Regions from separate parts of the Homo sapiens genome. Here all the other regions are linked to region 1. The links are contacts of gene promoters, found by promoter capture Hi-C in blood cells and fetal thymus (Javierre and others, 2016). All regions are on one chromosome and are shown on one strand. The core of a region is centred on a gene start or on the middle of the fragment in contact, and the rest is flanking DNA. Distances in the headings are between cores, read along the strand shown.

Region 1 (2,958 bases), core at 203-2,702:
AGTCTGCGATTGTGCCGCACCCCCCACCCACCTCTTAGCATCTGGATTCTGCTCTCGTAGTGGGGGCCGCGGACCCTCCCCGCCACAGTCCTTTTACTCTCCAGCACTCCCACCGCCTTCCCCCTTCTTCAGCCATCTGACTCTCCTAGGGGTATGTGTTTTTGGGGGTGGACGGCGACGGGGGTGGGGGATACTTTCCTTCCCGTGGCGGCAACCTAGTTCGTATCTTATTCCTACAAGGTAGCGTCGCTTCGAGTCGCATGGACATTGGGGTTTAGATAATTTACCCCCCACCCAAGCGATTTAATGGCTTTTAAGCAAAAGGCGAATACCTGGATTTCCATGGGAGGGATGAGGTTTGAAGATTGGGATTCACCCCTAGCTCACTTCCACTACCAACCCCTCTTTCTTGTGAGCCACTTCCACGGGTATTCAAATCTGGGGGGGAGGGGGGACGGGAGTATTAATATGCTTCTCTATTTCTACACAGGGTCGGCGTGGCGAAGGACGGCTAGCCTTGGAGGGAAAGTAGCCACCAGTCCAACTCGGGTCGCCCCCACCATTATTTCGGTGAGGGGGCAACGCTAAGAAGGGGATACTGGTGGGTAGGGGCCCAGTATAAGGGAGGGGGCTGGGTAGTCGTCCCCAGAAGGACTCCGTGTCTTGGCGGGGAGAGAGAGAGGCGAGCCCCGGCTTCAGGGGAGGGGTTCCGGGGAGGGAGATGGGGGGGTGGCGACGACGGTGGGGGGGGGAGCGGGAAGAAGGGGGAGTCACGCCCTGCCTGCAAGGGGAGCCTCCCTCAGGCCCCTGGGAGAAGGGGACTGAATGCGTCTGTTCTCCGCTGCCCGGCAGAGGAGATCTGGGGTCTCGAGATTTGCACACTGGATCGGCACCAGTGGCCTGAGAAAGTCAGGTCGGGGCATAAGGTGGAGAACGTTGGAAGAAAGAGAGAGAACCCTTTGGCCGCGGCTCACTGACCCTCTCCCTTCCTCAACCTCCCCCTTCGAGGGGCGTCGAGGTGGGGGGGGACGTGGGGCTCCTGCAGCCCCGCAGATTGAGCGCCTCCGCCTCTCCCAGGAGTCTAGCTTTTTGCCCGGCTTGCTGCAGCCACTGCTGCCTCCCTCTCCGGAATCCGCTCGGTCCTCTCAGCGATCCCCTCCTCCTCTCCTCCCCTCCCAGTGTCACCGGGGCTGCTTGGCTCTGCCCCCTTCGCCGCCGCTTGCTCCCTGCTTTCGTCCCTCCCTCTCTTGCTCGCTCCCTCCCTTCGCCTCCTCCTCCCCATTCCCCCCCACCCGCGTAGGCCGCATTCTGGGAGTTGTAGTCCGGTGGAGCGGGGGTTGGCGCCGCCCGCGGACCCAGCCGGACTCCACTTCCCGTCGAGCCCTGCGACCGGCACCCACTCCACCAGGCTTCGCTCGCACACAGACACACACACACACCGCTCTCCCCCTCACTCTTTCGCTCGCCGCGGCTGCTGCCAGTGTGTGGCTCTGTCTCTCCTCCGCTTTGCTGAGCCCTCCCTTCTTCCTCTCAGTTCCTAGAGTCCGACCGCCGCCGCCGCCGAGAGAGAGGAGAAGGAGGTCGGTGGCGATAAGGGGCGGAGGGGGGCATCAGATCGGGGCAGTATTAGGCGGGTGGCGGTTAAGAGGGAGTAAGAGGGAGCCCGGGTGGCGGCCTGAGCCTCCCCGCGGAGCCGACCCGGGAACAGGTGCGTCTTTTTTCTCTCTCCCCCAATCCCTCCACCCCTTTTGACTCCCCGGCTTTTTCGTATCCCCCCACCCGCTTCTTTCTATCTTAAGCCTTTCTCCAACCCTGTTCCTTCTTTTCCCTGCGGCCGCTCGGCTTGCCCCCCGGGGGCGCCGTCCTCTTCGTGTCCCCGGACGTAGCGCTCCCTGGAGCTGGGTATGTCTTCGCCCCTCCCTTCGGGACAGCTCCCTTCCACTTCCCACCTTCGTACCCCATCCCCTGACTTGCCCTACCCCCTTCTCGACCCCCTTCTCTCTTAGCCAGGTGAGACTCGTTCGCCACGATCCAAGAGAGTCTTCTTCCCGGCTGGGCGGGGGTCTCCATGGAAACGGGGGTCGGTTGATCCTGGGGGGGAAACCATAGGAATTACCCCACTCCTCGGAAAGGGAGGTGGAGGCTATGGTCTTGTTAACTACCTGACTCCAACCCCCGATCCAAGGATCCGACGATCCGAAGGGAGGCTGGCTAGCAGGGCAGGGCGAGAAAAGGCTTTTTTTTGGGGGGGGGGGGTGTCCGTGATGAAGTGTTGAAGAGACCGGGAGAAAATGCCCTCCAACCTCAGAGGGGAGGTGCGACGGGTGCTCTTCAGGGCTGCTTTCTTCCCGGCGCTGGGGTGCGGGAATCGTAGGGTAAGGGGTACCCCTAGGTGGCGGCGGGGCCTGGGTTCGGGAGTGGGAGTGCTGTGATGGGGGCAGGGGCAATTATCCGAGTCCCTGGAAAAAAGGCGGGGGATGACTTCGGAGCGCCCTGGCTCCGCTGCCCTCGCTCTAGGGGCGGGGGCCGCCGGGCCGGGCGCGGCGGGGAGGGGGCTTAAATTGAAGGAAGATGAGATCGGGGGCAATTCATACTAGCACCGGCAAGCCAGAGGGGAGATCCGGCGTGCAAGCCCTCCACCCGCTTCGCGCCAGGCCTGGAGGCAAGGGGTCGGCGAGCGAAGCCGAGGGCTGGAAGGAGGGAGGCTCCGGTTACGGGGCCGGGTTTCGGGATCAGGGGCAATCCCCCGGCCCTTGGAGAAGGAGGGAGAGGGATGGCCGCGAACCCCAGGGCTCCCCCACCCCGGGTCCTAAGGGGCGTGAGGGACGGACAGCAGGCCCAGCGGAGCTGGATTCGAGCGGATCGCGGCCGGGGAGTGGGAGGGCTTAGTGGTGGGCTTCGGGGGGAGCAGTCCGGCGGCGGGGCGGGCGGGCGGGGCGTGGGGCTCCGGCGGGCGGC
Region 2 (2,991 bases), core at 469-2,968, 190 kb before region 1:
ACAAGAGCAGTTGGTCAAACTGTCAAAAATTGTGCAAGCCAGTTGTTAAACACAACCATTATTAAAAATCAAATTAAAGAAACTTACAATTCAGTTAATTATATTTTTTTAAAAAGGTAAACTGGGCATGGTGGTGTACACCTATAATCCCAGCTACTCAGGAGGACGAGGCAAGATGATTGCTTGAGCCCAGTAAGAGTCCAGCCTGGGCAACATAGGGAGACTCTGTCTCTAAATAAATAAATTTAAAAAAATAAAATTTTGTAAAAACGAACAAAGGTAATACAGTAAATCTTCAAAACTCATCACTTCCTAATTCTTGTACTACCTTTTACTCTTATCAATGCTGCTGAGGTTACGTGCATCCATAGCATCTTCATGGTGGCAATAGCCTCACCCTCATTTCAGACAACACGTCCAGTGATGTCAAAATGGTAGCTTGACATTGGCCGTGGAGGGGAGTGTTTACAACACAGGAATTGGCAACTCATCAGGGCCAGCTGTTAAACAGTTATCACCTCACTGAGGTGTGGTGAGGTAGGGGGAGCTCTGGAGTCTGGCTTGGTTGTGGGTTGCCTTGGGACTTGAACCTGAATTCCCTTGGCCTGAGTTTACAGATGAGGAGTAAGTAACCCTTGGGCCTTACTCCTCATTTGTAAACTCAGGCCAACAATACCACTTACCTTCAAGTGTCACTGTAAGGATTCAGTGAAATGGCAGGCAGGCCTGGCACACAGAAACACAGGCAAAAGTAGTTTCCTCTCTAGCGACATTGTCTGCCCAGTTGTGCGGTAGCAATGGTTGAGTCCAGGTTGTGCCACCGTGGTCTTTTCTGTATGTACATCGGCACTTGAGGCTGACAAAAGCACATCCACATGGTGCCCTGGTTGAACCTGTTTCTGTGAGGTAACCAGGGCAAGGACTGTCACTCTCATTTTTACAAAAGGGGAAGAAACTAGGGCTCAGAGAGTGCCATTCAGCCTATAAGTGGTAGAGTTGGGGTTTGAGCCAGCCCCTAGCTCTTCACTAAGCCCAGGCCCATTTCTTCAGCTTCATGCACACCCCAGCAAGGCTCCTTAAAGCTTCCCGCCTACCCTCCCTGCAGGCAGACACTCTGGAGGAGGGCTCTGCCTCCCCGACATCTCCAGACTACAGCCTGGACAGCCCTGGCCCTGAGAAGATGGCGCTGGCCTTTTCTGAGCAAGAGGAGCATGAACTTCCGGTGCTCAGCCGCCAGGCATCAACAGGTGAGTAGGGGATGCGGGGGACACCTGCCGAATCTGGAGGAAAGGACTGGGTTACAGCCGTGCTGGTGGCACACTGTCTGGGCGGGGGGTAAGAGAAATGAATGCTTACTCTTTGCCTGCTGGGAACATTCTCAGTCCTCTTCACATTAAATCTTCTCAACAACCTCATGGGGCCAGTACTGTTATCCTTGCTTTATTGATGTGGAAACAGGGTCTTAGGGAGGTTAAGTGACTTGCCCAAGATGACCCAGTCTTGAACTCAGATGTACCGTAGAGGAACTTCCACTTGCTATCCTCAGGCCCCGGAGAGGCCCACGGGCAGAGGAAGAGTCTCAGTCACCCTCTTGGACCAGCCCGTCCCCACCTTTCCAAGGGGAGCTAGAGGCTACAGATCCCTGGGCCTCTGATGCCCCAGTCGGGGGTGGGCGTATGAGGTCTCCAGCTGTGAAGAGTCAGCCTCTTGACCCTAGACCATAGTTGCTGGGCTCAGGGCATCACCTGGCATCTTCTAGAAGTCCATGGGACAGGACAAGAGGTGCCAGCAGGGAACTCGTCCAGGCAGGGGCTTTGGGTTCTGCAGCCCCATTCAGCACCGCCTTTCTTGCCCCTCAAGTCCACTCCAAGTTTCCTGCTTTCTCTGCCTCCACAGACACTTCCCTGCCCCCGACTGAAAATCATTCAAAATGCCCACTACTCTGTACTTCCCAGGGAGAAGGAGCCCAACTGAGTTTCTATGTGACATTGTAACTACACATTGAGTTAAGCAGGGAAAGTCAAATATGAATGCAGGGCATAGCTTCCTGGGTGGAGGGAGCGTTGGAGTGGGTATCAGGGAACATGGAGTCTAATGGACTGACTCAGTGCTGCCAGTTATAAAATGAGAAGCCTTGAGCAGTTCACTTGGTCTGTGTGACCTCAGATTTCCGCATCTGTTCATTGGAGTGTTGGCCCAGTTGTTCTCTAGAGGCCCTCCTAATTTGCCCATTCTTTGGTCAGTGAGCCATTTCTCCTCCCATTGCCAACTCTTTTCATGTCCAAGGGCCCAGAGGTGAAGCCGTGCTCCTGGTCGGTAGCCAAGGGGGTGGTTCAGAATCCCTTCTGCAGTGTAAAGCTTGCCAGAGCCCAGCTGCCTTCCCGGTGTATACCCTTGGGATTTCTAGGCAGGTCCCCTGGAAGGCACCTGCTAGGCACTGTCTCAGCTGTTCTAGGACAAAGGTGAGCCTCCTCCCTGCCCCATCTCCTGCAGGCAGTGAGCTCTGCAGCCCCAGCCCAGGTTCTGGCAGCTTCGGGGAGGAACCACCTGCCCCCCAGTACACAGGGCCTTTCTGTGGCCGGGCACGAGTCCACACCGACTTCACTCCCAGCCCCTATGACCACGACTCGCTGAAACTGCAGGTAAGATCAGCATCCGGGCTTCTCTGGAGCCTGGCAGGCTGTGCCCAAAAAGGAAGCTGGACTGAACCAGGCTATGACAGTGTCAGTGGAGGCCAAGGCCCCCCATATCCTCTCTCCCTTGCTCCCTTCTCCTCTCCTCTCCCCCAACAGAAAGGAGATGTGATCCAGATCATTGAAAAGCCACCTGTGGGCACGTGGCTGGGCCTACTCAATGGCAAGGTGGGCTCTTTCAAATTCATCTATGTGGATGTGCTGCCCGAGGAGGCCGTGGGGCATGCCCGCCCCAGCCGCCGACAGAGCAAGGGCAAGAGGCCCAAGCCTAAGACCCTGCATGAGCTGCTGGAGCGCA
Region 3 (3,027 bases), core at 467-2,966, 170 kb before region 1:
TTCTTGCCCCCACTAGACAATGAGCTCCTTGAGAGCAGGGACATCGTTTGCCTCATTCATTGGTATAACCCTGGCAGCTAGTACAGTGGCTGGCACAGAGTCACTCAATATACACCAAAGAAATGACTAAATCTTAATCTACATCAAGGACACAAAGATCTGAAGGCAACATCAGGGCAGGTGTAGAGGCAGGGAAGCTGGGGTGATTAGAATACAATATTGCCTAATTATATTTCCAAGCTGTAAATTAGCCTCCGCCCTCTCTATATCGACCCAGCCTTAAGTCAGGAACACTTACTGGGCTCTGTGGCAAGAGGCTGCTACTGGTCTCTTGAGTACTGGGAGGTCGACTTCCACTTTCCTCCAGTGGCAAAATACCCCTTCGATCCAGCACACTGAAGGAGATAAGAGAGTTAACAAAGAACTGGGCATTCACCCCTCCACCCACCTGGCCTACGGAATTTTGCTGCATAGACTGGAAAATATAAACCTGTCCTTTGGCAATCTAGCCTGAACACAGCACATGCCTCTTATCTCCCATTCACTTTTTCTTCCACAAACCAGGAAATGTCACATTAACCAGGGAACAAACAAATGAAATTAAGAATGAAAGATCATCCCTCCAAAACAACCAGCCCATGGTCTATGGTCCATGTAGACATGGTACCAAGTGGCAAGCCCTGGAAAGACCTATTTGACACCAAGAGGCCACACTCAGAAAAACACATCAGACAAGGTAACAGGATCAGGTTGAGCTGCTCATCCCAACAGTCCCAGGACTTTTGAGTGCCCTGAGCACCTGGGGGGCAAGGGGCCACACAGCACTTCACAGCAGTTCTTCACAATATTGCCATGGCTGTAGGGATTCTGGACGCGATTCTTCCCTGTCCATGATCCTTTGATCTGCAAGATAAAAACCAAGGCTGACATTAAAAATAATGTTAAAATGAACAAATAATAATAATAAAATTAAAAACAGACACAAAAAAGAAAAATAATAATAATAATGTTGAAGAAACACATGCAGCATGGGATAATAAAAAAGTTCTGGAAATGGATGGTGGCAATGGTTGCACAACAATGTGATGCCACTGAACTGTACATTTAGGATATGAGGGCGATCTGGCTGCAACAACTGTCACCCCATTGATCGCCAGGGTTGAAAGACATTTAATATAGCACACTTTATATCATGTATATTTTATCACAACAAAAAAGAAATACATACACAGCCATGAAAAATACTCACAATAGAGTGAAAAAAGCAGATAACTGAATGATATATACTATTTTTATTTAAAAGTACATAATATAAACACATAAATAAACATGGAAAAAAGTCTAGACAAGTCTAGAATATATAAATCATACTACTAACAAAGGTGATGTCTAAGAAGTAAAGTAAGAGGAACTTACTTTTTTCTTTTTGCTCATCTGTATTTTCTGATTTTCTACAGTGAATGTAGATTAATTGCTAACTTTTTTTTTTTTTTTCCAGACAGAGTCTCATTCTGTTGTCCAGGCTGGAGTGCAGTGGCGTGATCTTTGCTCGCTGCAACCTCCACCTCCCGGGTTCAAGTGATTCTCCTGCCTCAGCCTCCCGAGTAGCTGGGACTACAGGTGCACACTAACACATCCGGCTATATTTTTGTATTTTTAGTAGAGACAGGGTTTTGCCATGTTGGCCAGGCTGGTCTTGAACTCTTGACTTCAGGTGATCCGCCCGCCTCAGCCTCCCAAAGTGCTGGGATTACAGGCGTGAGCCACCACACCCAGCCTAATTGGTAACTTTTTATATAGCAAGGATTCATCCAGTGCAACTGTCCCTCTCCATGCCAAACAGAGGCACCAGCTAGCCTTTAAGGACCTGTGAACAGTTAAAGGCTGTATACCCACCCAACTTTTCAACCTCTTCTTCCTAATGCTCCACAAGCATTCAACAAAGCCCTCTCCTTTCTCTTCCACACATCTGACTTAACAACCTCGCATACCACGTTTCTGCCTGCCTCAACCTCCCAGGCCCTGGAGACTCGGTAGTTCTCTAGCAGGTAGCAAGAGGATAGGCTTTGGGAAGAAGAATATGTGGTGAGGAGAAGAGAAAGTTGACTCACGTCTTCATTGGTTGTCTGGTTGAGAGCCACGAGGAAAGTATGAAATCCAGTCAGTCCCACGACGGACCAGAGTGTAAAGAAGCAAATGAGGACTTCTAGAACAGTGAGGTGTGGTTAAGGAGTATTGAAGAACTCAACATCAGGAGACTTGATGCCTCCGCCCATATTCAGAGCACCAGTCAGACCATCTTTACCTCCTGGAACGTATATCACAAAAAGCCATGTTTCCATATATAACAATAGATGAATTCTGAACTTACTGGATAGATCCCTTATGAAAGAATTTCTAGCGTATCTAGGGTATTTAAGGGTGTGCCTATTTACCCATCATTGGCTCTTGGAAGGGGATGCATGGGAGGGGCCAAAGCTAAACAATGTTGGCCATCACTGCCAATGGAAATTCTGTCAAAAAACAAAATTCATGTAATCCCGGCACTTTGGGAGGCCAAGGTGGGCGGATCACAAGGTCAGGAGTTCGAGAACAGCCTGGCCAACATGGTGAAACCCCCGTCTCTATTAAAAATACAAAAAATTAGCTGGGCGTGGTGGCGGGCATCTGTAGTCCAAGCTACTCGGGAGGCTGAGGCAGGAGAATCATTTGAACCCAGGAGGCGAGCTGGGGCAACAGTACAAGACTCTGTCTCAAAAAAAGAAAATTCATAAATGAAGAACTGGTGGGGGAAAAAAAAGAGGATGTGATTTATAGAAATCTCATCTGAACCCCCTTTGCAGAAATGCAGCCACTGTCCTGAGCAGGGGGTGAAGGAAAGACCTCCCTTTTAGTCCCGGTCATCTTCCATTCTGGTTGCTACCACTAAGACTATATTTTTTTAAATTATTTTAGACCTTGGCACTCTCTGATATCTGAAAAACTAGATAGTGGGAGAACTGTGGGGAAAAAGCATGCTGGAAAGTA
Region 4 (3,220 bases), core at 13-2,512, 240 kb after region 1:
AATATTTCTTAAATAAAGAAATAAAGTGAGGCAAGAGACTGACAGAGTACAAATGAGCAGCAGGCACAATTTAACTAGTTCAAAGTGTCTGCCATTTCATTCAATGAGTATTTACTTGTCCAGAGCCCCAAGATGGGAGACATTAATCTACTATTCCCTTAGTTGGACTCAAGTCCTGGATATCCCTCTTATGTATGTATGCTTGCATTGTGCTAATGATCACAGATGATACTTTTTTTTGTTTTTTGAGATACAGTTTTGCTTTTGTTGCCCAGGCTGGAGTGCAATGGCACAACCTCGGCTCACTGCAACCTCCGTCTCCTGGGTTCAAGCAGTTCTCCTGCCTCAGCCTCCCAACTAGCTGGGATTACAGGCACCTGCCACCACACCTGGCTAATTTTGTATTTTTAGAGATGGGGCAGGGCTGGTCTCGAACTCCTGACCTCCAGTGATCCACCCTCCTCGGTCTCCCAAAGAGCTGGGATTACAGGCATGAGCCACTGTGCCCAACTAATACATTTTTAAAATAATGTTTAACCAAAGAAACAGTAACTTGTTCCAAGGGTAGAGAAAAAGTTAAGTGTTGAACTTCTTGACATGCATACTATATGGTTTTTGGGTTATATGAGGAATTTTTTTTTCTTTTGAGACGGAGTCTTGCTCTGTCTCCCAGGCTGGAGTGGCATGATCTTGGCTCACTGCAACCTCTGCCTCCCGGGTTCATGTGATTCTCCCCCCTCAGCCTACGAGTAGCTGGGATTACAGGCATGCACCACCACACCCAGCTAATTTTTTTTATTTTTAGTAGAGACAGGGTTTCACCATGTTGGCCAGGCTAGTCTCAAACTCCTGGCCTCAGGTGATCCGCCTGCCTTGGCCTCCCAAAGTGCTGGGATTACAGGCATGAGCCACTGCACCTGGCCAATTTGAGGGATTTTCAAGGGTAACTATCTGTAATTTCTGCCTTTAGACCTAATGTCAATGTGGAATATGAGTCTGCGGTGGAAGCTTGGGCTATAAATCAATTTTGGGCTCTGCCATTTGTTAGGGAATGTGACACTGGGCAAATTACTTTCTATAAAGCTTTGTTTCCTCATCTATAAAATGAAAACAATCATATACCTGCCTCATAGGGTGGCTGTGAAGATTAAACAAGATAATGCATGTAAAAGCACCAGTGGCTGTCAAATGGTAAGTGATTATTATATGTTAACTGCTTATTGTTGTTATTAAAGAGCTAATGAGGATATTTAACACATGTGGAGTCTTTCGTCCTTTGTTAAAAAATGTATAAACTGCATTGCTAACTCCAAAATCACTCAAGACATAATAATATATTATTTTTAGGAAAAAGTTGCAATCAAAGTTTTCAAAAAGAATAAAATAAACCATAGAGTCAATAATTCTTATTACATAAAATTGCACTAATGCCATCTAAATTATAAGCTTATAATATTGGTCAGCTCAGGTTTTTGAGTCTTTTGTGAATAATTATGCAAACTGCAAATACCTTCAGAGAAGCCTGATGATCCTTCTTATCAATAGAATCTTACCTCTTCACTGCTGACTGTTTACTCTTCAGGTACTCCAAACTTAACAAAAAAATTCAGCACCTGAAATGGACTGAATGCCTGTGTCCCCTCCGCCCCCCAATTCATATGGCGAAATCCTAATTTTCAATGTAATAGTATTGGGAGGTGGAGCCTTCGGAAACTAATTAGATTATGATGGTGGAGCTGTCATAAATGGGATTAGTGTCCTTATAAAAGGGACCCTAGAGAGCCCTCTCCACCCCTTCCCCCATGTGAAGACACAGTGAGAATATGGCCATCTATGAACAAGGAAGCAGGTCCTCACCAGACACTGAACCACTGGTGCCCTGATCTTGGACTTTACAGCCTCCATAACAGAGAGAAATAAGTGCTTGTTGTTTAAGCTTCCCAGTCAATGGTATAATAGCATGTTATAGTAGCTCAAACAGACTAAGACAGCACCTGTGGCACCTCAGTGGTCCCTCAGACTACTCCCAGATGTGATGATTCAGCAGAAGGATCGATAGGACTTAGTGTTATACTCACAGCTATGTTTTATTACAGTGTAAGGGTACAGAGCAGGATTAATAAAGGAAAATGGTGTACTGGATAGCTTCTAGAGGATTACCAGGCGCCAACTTCTAAGAGCTCTATTCCAATGGAGTCACATAGGACACACTTAATCCCTCAGCAATGAACTGCAGCAACATGTATAAAATCCCTCAGCAATGAACTGCAGCAACACGTATAAAGTGTTGCTTGATGGGAAAGCTCTCTTGAGTCTAAGAGCTTAGGTTTTTTATGGAGGTAAGCCACCAAATTTTCAGACGACTCCTCCCACTGCAAGAAAAGCAGGTGGTCACCATAACCGTATTTTTTTGTGCGAATTTTCTTGACTAACTGGTACAACATGGCTCAAGGTTCCAGGCATGTAAACCACTCTTATCAGTTAATAACATAGAGAACATTTTAGAAGCTCAATTTCCAAGATTTAGCCAAGGGCCAGTTATACAAGCAGGCACTTCTGAAATTGTGCAATATTTGAGCAACTCAGACCTGTTGGGTAACTCTTTCCAATACATACAGCAAGTTAAGGCATACAACTTAGGATATGAAGAATGACTACAGATCAGATAAACCACTTATAAGACACAGCTCACAAAGTGGGTTCATTATGTCTTTCTTACCTTTCTAAGCATGTTATCACTCCCTTCAAATCTACATCTATATCACTCTGGAGCTTAGTAAAGCACAGGGGAAAGAATTATGTTAAAAAACCCATAATTAGACAGTCAGAGATACTGCTTTATGTTCCATTCTTCTTTTCAAAATTGAAGGCCAAAAAATGAAATACAGACCACCAAGAATAGTGTTTCCCAAACTCTATACCTCAAGAAATGTTAATAGGTATTGTGCAAATAAAGGGCTCAAAGGTTAAAAATGTTTGAGGACTATTACACACTATGTCCCTTGCTTAGAGATTTACAGTATTAGCATATTAAAAGCTCTGAAAAGTCTTGTTGTTAAAAATAAACAAAAAACACCTCTATGAATTTTGTAAATCCAGCCATTCACTAAATTTCTTTTACCAGGAACAAGTTAAGAGGGGAACACTTATTAACATCTGAGTGAACACTGTTGGTGGAAACCCTAGAAAGATTTTGCCAAAGTTTTTAAGGGTGAGATGG
Region 5 (3,291 bases), core at 332-2,831, 220 kb after region 1:
CATATTCAAATTACGCTAACATTTAGTGCTTTATAAATTGTCACCTCTCAACTTGTTGCTGAAAGCTAGGCATCAAGAGACTCAAAGCCAAGTCTCCCTTAACAACTTAAGTAATGTGTGCAAGTTATTACTTACAAAGCAAGGATATAATATTCATTCACTGAAATATATAAATATTCATTTGCTGACAACCTTCTTCACCCACACTGTACTACTAGGTATTGTAGATATAACAGTAAACAAAAAAGGTACAGTGTGTGGATTCTGCAATCTAGTATCTTAGTCAAATGAGGATAAAATTAGAAAAGAAATGTGAAGGTTTTAAAATCCTGTAATTATCAGTTTATTAACAAAGCATACATATACTTTTGAAGTTCATCAGATACTTTAAACTTAAATATTTCACCTCTATAGGAAACCAGTGCATACCTTGGATTGACTTCTTTAGTTTTTTTTTTTTTTTTTTTTTTTGAGACGGAGTCTGGCTCTGTTGTCCAGGCTGGAGTGCAGTGGCACAATCTTGGCTCACTGCAAGCTCCGCCTCCCGGGTTCATGCCATTCTCCTGCCTCAGCCTTCCAAGTAGCTGGGACTACAGGCGCCTGCCACCACGCCTGGCTAATTTTTTTGTATTTTTTAGTAGACAGGGTTTCACTGTGTTAGCCAGGATGGTCTCAATCTCCTGACCTCGTGATCCACCCGCCTCGGCCTCCCAAAGTGCTGGGATTATAGGCGTAAGCCACCGTGCCTGGCTACTTCTCTAGTTTTAACAACCTGTTGTGGATTTACACCTAGCCAGAACTCCTGCACATCAAAAATTATCTTCATAAAACTGGAATCATGTGCTTTCCCCATGAAATTTAGGGGGAAAGTCTCTTTTATGATGCCATTTCCCTAATACTGAGGCTCAAATTTGTAGTTATCTCTGACTTTCTTCTTACGTAAAACATTCAATATTTCAAACGTTTTATGATGTTAACGATTTATCGAGTACTTACTCTATGCCAGTCTGAGGGTTTTAGACATTATTGCCTGATCTAAATCTTATGGCAACCCAAAGAGATAGGTGCTACAATTATTACCTTTTTACAGAGGACAGAATTAGTTTCAGTAATCTACTGAGGCCAGGATCAGGTTGGAAATGGAGCCCTTTGATTCTGAAGCCCATGCTCTTAAATATGATGTGATACCACCCCACCACCTCAGCCCAGGGCATTATTAAGTAAGTCTTAACCACTACAATAGCCTTAACCAGCCTATGTGTCTCATGCAGCTACAACTCATCCTGTATACTCCTCCAAAGTGATCTTCCTTCAGCACCCTTGATTCTACTCAAAACATCAATGGCTTCCCCAATGTCTTCCAAATGAAAATTAAGCCCAAACTCCCCAGCCTTGTTTTCAAGGATTCAACAATCTGCATCTAAGTTCAAAACTATCTCCCCAGACTGATCTTTTTTTATTTTTGGAATGGAGTCCCACTCTGTCACCCAGGCTGGAGTGCAGTGGCGCGATCTCGGCTCACTGTAACCTCCACCTCCCGGGTTCAAGTGATTCTCTTGCCTCAGCCTCTGAGTAGCTGCGATTACAGGCGCACACCACCATGCCCGGCTAATTTTTTTTGCATTTTTAGTAGAGATGGGGTTTTGCCATGTTGGCCAGGTTGGTCTTAAACTCCTGACCTCAGGTGATCCACCCACCTCAGCTGCCCAAAGTGCTGGGATTACAGGCATGAGTCACCGTGCCCGGCCAACTTTGATCTTAATATAATACTATGCTATATGAACTTTGTGCTTCATCCAAATTTTACTCCTAGTTATTCATTGTCATTCCGGAGAATGTGTATAGTTTCTGCATTTTCCTTTCTGAACTTTTATTCATGTTATTTCTTCCAACTAGAATGCCCTTGTGCCTCTTCTTGTAAGTAGAAACCTTTCTCCCCTTTGAAATCTGTATCTCTCACTGCACTTACTAGAAACCTCTTTGAATTACTGTAGTTATTTATGTTCACACCTTATATCCATACCCCTTTAATAAATTGTACATTCCTTGAAGGTTGGTACAAGCCTTCTTCATCACGGTCATCTGTATAGGACTTCCTACGCTGTATTATACATGATAGGTACACAATAAATAGCTAAAGAATATTTCATTTTAACAAAATAGTAATTATGAAAAAATTGTTTATAGAAATACAAAATGCTATGTCCATACACAGATTTTTTTAAAAAAATTTTTTGAGACCGAGTCTCACTGTGGCCCATGCTGGGGTATAGTGGCGCAATCTTGGCTCACTGCAACCTCCGCCTTCCAGGTTCAAGCAATTCTCGTGCCTCAGCCTCCTGAGTAGCTGGGATGACAGGCATGCGCCACCACGCCCGGCGAATTTTTGTATTTTTAGTAGAGACGGGGTTTCACCATGTTGGCCAGGCTGGTCCTGAACTCCTGGCCTCAAGTGATCCACCCGCCTTGGCCTCCCAAAGTGCTGGGATTACAGGTGTGAGCCACTGCACCCGACCCATACACAGAATTTGATCAATTTTCTATTCAGATGTGAGATCCACTCAAGTTGAAAAAAAAGCACCTCAGATCTTTCAAATCATACAGTTAATTTAAAAACCAAGCATACAATTGAGCTTGACCATAATGTGGTAAAAATCAAATCGAAGTCTCATCTTTAGAATTAAATCTCTTTTCATTCTTATAAGCATTTTTCAGTAAAGGTAACACCTAATATATTTTACTCTTTTCTAATTCCTCGAATTCAATGCTTTAAAAATAGCATAATTTTTTTTTTTTTTTTTAGATGGAGTTTTGCTCTTTTGCACAGGCTGGAGTTAAGTGGTGCAATCTCGGCTCACTGCAACCTCTGCCCTCCGGGTTCAAGCGATTCTCCTGCCTCAGCCTCCCAAGTAGCTGGGATTACAGGTGCCTGCCACCATGCCCGGCTAATTTTGGTATTTTTAGTAGAGACAGGGTTTCGCCATGTTGGCCAGGCTGATCTCGAACTCCTGACCTCAGGTGATCCACCCGCCTCAGCCTCCCAAAGTGCTAGGATTACAGGTGTGAACCACTGCACTTGGCCTAACATGAGTATGTTTTAAAAATACAATAAAAATTTCCTCTATGAGCTGTTGGTCCAACATTATCCACATAATTCATTTTCAACATATACATTAACTTATTCAACAAATATTTACCAAGTGCCTACTATGTGCCAGGTACTATGTGCCTGGCAAACATCTGTCAACATGAGCAAAATAATTAACAAAGGAAGATGGAGTCAAAAGATAA
Region 6 (2,931 bases), core at 292-2,791, 210 kb before region 1:
GCCCAACCAGCCAACCTCCAGCCTGTCTAAAAAGGTATTGTAACCTTGTGGAAGGGACAGAAAGGAGCCCTACACTGGGGAACTTGTCAAATGTAATCCAGAAAAGTTGGGGCTGGCACCTTTGCCAAGCAGCGCACAGTTGGTGGAAGGAAAGAACCAAGGTGCAGGGTGCCAGGCAAAGGCACCAGGCAGAGAAGTCTCCTGGCCTGAAACCATCAGGCCTAGTCTGCTGAGTGTGAGGGTGACCTGTGATGGTTACCATCACCAGTGCTTGCATCCAGAGGCTCCAGCCCTGACCAAGCCTTACTGAGTATCCAAAGATGGGCCTCTGTTTGCTAAATAATTTGCTCCCTCACCTGCTCACCCCACAAAGACAGGTACTACTAATAAAATTAAAGTCATCATCACCCTCATCATCATCACCATCATCATCATCATGGCTGCCATTTACTGAGTGTTTATGTGCCACCGTGCAAGAAGCTTTACATGCATTTTCTCATTTAATCCTCACAACCTCTGAGAAGGCCCTTTTCTTATTCCCATTTTACAAGTGCAGGAACTCAGTGAGGCCCATAGAGATTTATCAAGTGACTCAAAGTCACTTTTTTCATTGGGTAAATGAAAAAAAGCCAGATTTAAACCAGTCAGAGGACTCTAGAATCCACTCTCAAGAAAGGGCAAGTCCTGGCCGGGTGTGGTGGCTCACCCCTGTAATCACAGCACTTTGGGAGGCCGAGGTGGGAGGATCACATGAGGCCAGGATTTCAAGAGCAGCCTGGGCAACATGGTGAAACCCCATCTCTACTGAAAATACAAAAATTAGCTGGGTGTGGTGGCGCACACCTATAGTCCCAGCTACTCGGGAGGCTGATGCAGGAGAATCGTTTGAACCCAGGAGGCGGAGGTTGCAGTGAGCTGAGATCGTGCCACTGCACTCCAGCCTGGGCAACAGAGCGAGACTCCATCTCAAAAAATAATAATAATAATAAAATAAAGAAAAATAAAGGGCAAGTGGTATGGCTTTCATCATTTTACTGACAAGAAAACTGAGGCTCAAGCAGGAGAAGCAGATCCACACCATAGTGCCTCCCCAGACCCTGCCAGACCTTTGCCTTTGCACCCTGACACTTGCTCCTGGGGTTCTGGCAGGTCATGGGTGGCAAGACCAGGCACCTGACCAACACCCTCACACAGGCCTTTCGGACCGAGGCAGCTCGTGCTTTTTTCCTCAGTGCGAGACCCAGGACTCCACCTCATCTCTGAATCCCCTTAACTGCCCCTTCCAGCCTACCATTCTGGGAGGAAGAACCCAGCCCTGGAACGTGGCTGGAACGAGGGCTCACAGTCACCCCAGCTCTTCCCTCCCCTGGGACCCAGATGGCCAGACTTGACCATTCCTGCTTTAAGGGATTAACTCTGGGTCAGGCAGGGAAACAGGGCACATACACCAGGGCTGATACACAGGGACTCTTGTGACATCGTTAGGAATGAAAGATTGTTAGGAACTGTCCCCTTGGGCTCTAGTACTTTGTTTTAATGTTGGAGGATGGGGCTTAGCAAACCTCTCCTCGCCTGCTGATTGCCTGGGGAGCCGGCCATGTGGAAAAGCCCCTTTTCCTAGGAGTTAAGATTCTGGGGTTTGAGTCCCATTTGTGCCAGCTGTGTGGCCTTGGGCAAGTCACTTCTCCCTGGTCTTCAGTTATCCTTTCTGGAATCTCCCATGCTGCCTTCTTGGTGAGGTTACAGCGAGAGGCTCATGAGACCCGGATGTGGCAGCACTCTAAACCAGGAAGCCACACAGACAAGAAATGATATTGCTGTTATTTGCCCAGCACAAGTTCAATTCAGCTTCACCTTTGCAGGTAGGTAAGAAAAAGGTCTGGAACCCAAGTTTTATATATAAATAGCCAAAATTAGAAAGGCTCTAGAGCAAACATCTAATTTACGTCTTTCCAACTATGCTCCCGGGAGCCTGAGATGCCTCAGAAACACCACAGGGGCTGTCGAGGAAAACAGAGCTGCTGCACGAAGTAGCCCTGACGGGCTTCCCGTAAAATTGTACTTGAAGTAGTTGCAGGGCCAGCTTCACGGGTGTAGGACCTGTGCAGTCCCTCAAGACTTTGTGCTTACAAGGGCCCCATGCTTGGTTTAATGCTCGCCTGTCACTGTCTCAAAATTCTTGATAATTTTTAAGCAAGAGGCACCGGGCATTTTCATTTTGCACAAGGCCCGCAAAATTCAAGAGCCAATCCTGAATAGGAGCTCCATGACCAAACACACACACACACACACACACACACACACACACACACACACACACACAAAACCTGGTGCAGTCCTTTCAGTGTACAGATGGGAAAACTTCAACAGCAACCCAGGAAGAGGAAGGGACTTGTCCAAGGTCACACAGTCCAGTGGGGCCAGAGCAAGGACTAAATCCGCAGCATACTGACTCAGCTCCACAATGGCTCCGCTCTCGCTTTCAGTGTGTGCTTCTGTCACTCCCTTACTGCCTCTAATGACCCACTGAGGCCCAAGGAGACCTGTTGAAGGTCACACAGCTGTGACAACAATGGTGACGGCGGTGTTGAGCCACGTTCCTTCAAGCTTCAAATCTGAATAGAAAAGGGCATAGGTAAGATGATAGGTAGATAGGTACATACACAAATCATCTAAATAGCTCCTTTTGTTTTTTGTTTTTTTTTTTAGAGAGAGGGTCTTGCTCTGTCACCCAGGCTGGAGAGCAATGGCACCATCATAGCTCACCGTAACCTTGAAATCCTGGGCTCAAGTGCTTCTCCCGCCTCAGCCTCCTGATTAGCTAGGACTACAGGCATGCACCGCCATGCCCGATTAATTTTTTTTTTAATTTTTATTTTATAGAGATGATGTCTATGTTGCCTAGGCTGGTCTCAAATTTCTGGCCTCAAG
Region 7 (2,970 bases), core at 471-2,970, 230 kb before region 1:
CTGCCAGTCTTCAAGAAAAAGGCACCTGGAGCTTGAGTTTGGAAGCCGAAGAACAGAGTTCAGCTTCAATAAGCTTATAAAGACGAGAGAGACTTTCCAGCCACTTGCAGATTTTAAAGGAGAAAGGAGAGTGCAAAGGGCAGAACATGAAAAGTTCGCTACTCAAACATACCTGTACGCACCAGACCATTGAAATTTGGGTTCATTTGGTTTCTCAGAAAGGTATCATATTCCTGAACCTTGAAAACATAATTGCAAGTGAAAGAAGCCAGTCAGAGAAGGCCACATATTGTACAATTCCATTTGTATGAAATATCCAGCACTGGCAAATCCATAGAGACAGAAAATAGATTAGGGATTTCCTGGGGCTCAGGGGAGGGGGGATAGGGAGTGACTCCTTAGTGAGTACAGGGTTTCCTTTGGGGATGAAGAAAATGTTCTAGAATTAGATCGTGGCGATGGTTGCACAACATTGTGAGTATGCTGAAAGCCACTGAATTGTGCACTTTAAAAAGATTAAAATGATATGTTTTATGTTATGTGTAAAATACACATAACATAAATTATGTGTAAAATATGTAGTAAAATAAACCTACAAAAATGTATTGTACCCAAAGCTTTGGTCATTGTTGAATAGTTTTACCTGTTCACATGAAATATTTTTCACGACATTAAGTTATTTATGCTCATATCTGAACCCAACTAGGACCCTTAATGTTTATGGCCTTCGGCCAGCAAACTCCTAGTCCTGCCTAGGGGTAGACTCTTTGAATATCTTGCAGGGGGCAGGGATAGAAGATGAAAACTAAAGTCATAGAACCCAGATATAAGCATCTGAGAAAGGACGGTGCTGTGACACAGAGTTTAAGGACAGATTTGGAGACTGAGAATGTTATCAAGACAGTACGGTGTCTGTACAGATTAAGAGCGTGGGCCATGCAGTCAGACAGACCAGAGTTCAAATCCCAGCTCTACCTCTTGCATCCATGAAACCCTAGACAAGTCACTTTACCTCTCTGAAGCCTCAGTTTCCTTATCTGTAAAATGGGATGGGTAAGAATTAGAACAATGCACATGGAGTGCTTAGCCCAGTACCCGTGGCTTAGTAAATACTGGGGTTACTGCAGAGAAAGTTGAACACGGCCCCAGCCCTACCCCTTTGTCCTTCAACTAGGACTGCTCTCTTGATCTCAGTCTGCATGATTATTTATTAATCAGAAAGATACAAGAGTTACTACATCTCAAGATACCATTCTGTGTGCTTTACAAATATTAATTCATTCCATCCTCATAGCAGCCCTATTGAGGCAGATGCTTATTATACTCCATCCCCATTTTACAAATGTGCAAAATGGAACACAGAGGGGTTAGGTAATTTGCCCAAGGTCACCCATCCAGTAATGGCAAAGCCAGGATTTGAGCCCCATCTGGGTCCAGGGCCCATGTCATTAATGAGTACACAAGTAAGAGTTTGTTTGAGGAAAGGGTTTCGCTGCTTTTTAAGAGGATGCAAAACTGTTACCCTAAGGCTGACCTTCCAGGAACCGAGTGCCAAAGGCAAGGTCTGTCACTTACACTTTTTTGGGGCTCCTTTGCTTCTAGGGAGCACTTGGCAGGAGAAAGTATCTGGCGTCCGAAGCCAGATGCAGAAGCATCAAAAGGTCCCGACTGCCGTCCTTCTGTCGGCGCTTGAGGAGACGGCCTGTGAGTGTGGATTTGCAGACATGGGTGGGCGCCTGGGTCTCCCCAATGCCCCAAGCCTCCCGGGCCCTGCAGCACAGAGCTAGCTCTTCCCCAAATAACCATGTGCCCACCAATTCTTGAGAACTCCATGGCCACAGCCCGTGGGAACCAAGAAGGGTAAGGGGGCAGGAGCTCATGGCTTCAGAAAAAGGACAAAAGGTAGCCCTGAGCAAGCTGGGACCAGCCCACAGGCCACCAGAGGAACGAACTGACTATGGCAGCAAAGTGCTTCTGTCCCACTAAGGGGAGGAGGACCAGGAAATGCCTCCCAACAACTTAGCCACTACCCCAGGGCACTCACACTCCCAGCTTTAGCACCCAGTGGGACTCTACTCTTTCCGACATGGCTCAGGACTTCTTGTCTGATCCCTATGGCTGGGCTTCAGATATTCCAGGGACCCACTGGAACTGTGTGCTGACTGCTAAGTATCTGCATTTTTCTGGGGGGAAAAGATCCATAACTCTCAACAGCATCTCAAAGACGCCCACTCCCCCACCCCCCCCCCCCGGCAAAAAGATTGAGTAACATGCAGAGGTAGATGATACAAGCATGCTGTTGGTAATCTTTGGAGGCCAAAGGAAACAGTGGGGCAAAAGTGTCAGAAATGCTTGCCTCTGGCCGGGTGCGGTGACTCACGCCTGTAATCCCAGCACTTTGGGAGGCCAAGGTGGGCGGATCACCTGAAGTCAGGAGTTCAAGACCAGCCTGACCAACATGTTGAAACGCCGTCTCTACTAAAAATACAAAAATTAGCTGGGCATGGTGGCAGGCATCTGCAAACCCAGCTACCTGGGAGGCTGAGGCAGGAGACTTGCTTGAACCTGCGAGGTGGAGATTGCAGTGAGATCTTGCCACTGCACTCCAGCCTGGGTGACAGAGCAAGATACTGTCAAAAAAGAAAGAAAAGAAAGAAAAAGAAAGAAAGGAAGAAAGAAAGAAAGAAAGAAAGAAAGAAAGAAAGAAAGAAAGAAAGAAAGAAAGAAAGAAAGGAAGGAAGGAAGGAAGGAAGGAAGGAAGGAAGGAAGGAAGGAAGGGAGGAAGGAAAGAAGGAAGGAAGGAAAGGAAAAAAAGAGGAAAAGAAAAGCTTGCCTCAGGCAGATCAGCATTAAATATTCCTTGTCAATTCTCTTCCCAGGGCTCTTCAACCTTCGAGCCAGTGACATCCCCTATAACCCCTTCTTCTATTCCTACACGCTGCTCACAGACTCTTCTATTAGGTATGGCTT

The links. Contacts are between HindIII fragments. The CHiCAGO score rates a contact against its expected background, and 5 or more counts as called.
Region 2: a fragment that was not itself captured here is called in contact with the fragment with the promoter of BCORL1 in region 1 in 6 of 17 cell types (non-activated CD4 T cells, total B cells, naive CD8 T cells and 3 more); the score reaches 7.5 in non-activated CD4 T cells.
Region 3: a fragment that was not itself captured here is called in contact with the fragment with the promoter of BCORL1 in region 1 in 3 of 17 cell types (non-activated CD4 T cells, total B cells and activated CD4 T cells); the score reaches 6.7 in non-activated CD4 T cells.
Region 4: a fragment that was not itself captured here is called in contact with the fragment with the promoter of BCORL1 in region 1 in 5 of 17 cell types (total B cells, non-activated CD4 T cells, activated CD4 T cells and 2 more); the score reaches 7.3 in total B cells.
Region 5: a fragment that was not itself captured here is called in contact with the fragment with the promoter of BCORL1 in region 1 in 5 of 17 cell types (activated CD4 T cells, total B cells, naive CD8 T cells and 2 more); the score reaches 8.5 in activated CD4 T cells.
Region 6: a fragment that was not itself captured here is called in contact with the fragment with the promoter of BCORL1 in region 1 in 6 of 17 cell types (M0 macrophages, total CD8 T cells, naive B cells and 3 more); the score reaches 6.2 in M0 macrophages.
Region 7: a fragment that was not itself captured here is called in contact with the fragment with the promoter of BCORL1 in region 1 in 6 of 17 cell types (neutrophils, total B cells, activated CD4 T cells and 3 more); the score reaches 8.0 in neutrophils.

Annotation. Positions count from the first base shown.
Region 1 is chrX:129,981,183-129,984,140 of GRCh38, forward strand. It overlaps BCORL1 (BCL6 corepressor like 1), which reads left to right and starts at 1,453. Exons shown (of 14, transcript NM_001379451.1): 1 at 1,453-1,580. RefSeq lists a silencer at 2,282-2,518. The HindIII fragment of the contact is 8,398 bases long and covers 1-2,958 here.
Region 2 is chrX:129,789,835-129,792,825 of GRCh38, forward strand. It overlaps SASH3 (SAM and SH3 domain containing 3), which reads left to right. Exons shown (of 8, transcript NM_018990.4): 4 at 1,106-1,247; 5 at 2,494-2,642; 6 at 2,793-2,991. Among named protein-coding and RNA genes, the nearest start is that of SASH3, 11 kb to the left of the region's middle. The HindIII fragment of the contact is 1,276 bases long and covers 1,081-2,356 here.
Region 3 is chrX:129,810,607-129,813,633 of GRCh38, forward strand. ZDHHC9 (zDHHC palmitoyltransferase 9) reads right to left here. Exons shown (of 11, transcript NM_016032.4): 8 at 2,112-2,214; 9 at 800-903; 10 at 299-395. Among named protein-coding and RNA genes, the nearest start is that of ZDHHC9, 32 kb to the right of the region's middle. The HindIII fragment of the contact is 8,924 bases long and covers 1-3,027 here.
Region 4 is chrX:130,222,435-130,225,654 of GRCh38, forward strand. The region is part of intron 12 of ZNF280C (zinc finger protein 280C); the gene reads right to left. Among named protein-coding and RNA genes, the nearest start is that of ZNF280C, 45 kb to the right of the region's middle. The HindIII fragment of the contact is 363 bases long and covers 1,082-1,444 here.
Region 5 is chrX:130,205,914-130,209,204 of GRCh38, forward strand. All of the region lies in intron 16 of ZNF280C (zinc finger protein 280C), which reads right to left. Among named protein-coding and RNA genes, the nearest start is that of RAB33A, 36 kb to the left of the region's middle. The HindIII fragment of the contact is 6,468 bases long and covers 1-3,291 here.
Region 6 is chrX:129,769,753-129,772,683 of GRCh38, forward strand. No RefSeq gene overlaps it. Among named protein-coding and RNA genes, the nearest start is that of SASH3, 8.7 kb to the right of the region's middle. The HindIII fragment of the contact is 2,127 bases long and covers 479-2,605 here.
Region 7 is chrX:129,748,866-129,751,835 of GRCh38, forward strand. It overlaps XPNPEP2 (X-prolyl aminopeptidase 2), which reads left to right. Exons shown (of 21, transcript NM_003399.6): 8 at 1,603-1,704; 9 at 2,880-2,961. Among named protein-coding and RNA genes, the nearest start is that of XPNPEP2, 11 kb to the left of the region's middle. The HindIII fragment of the contact is 2,211 bases long and covers 616-2,826 here.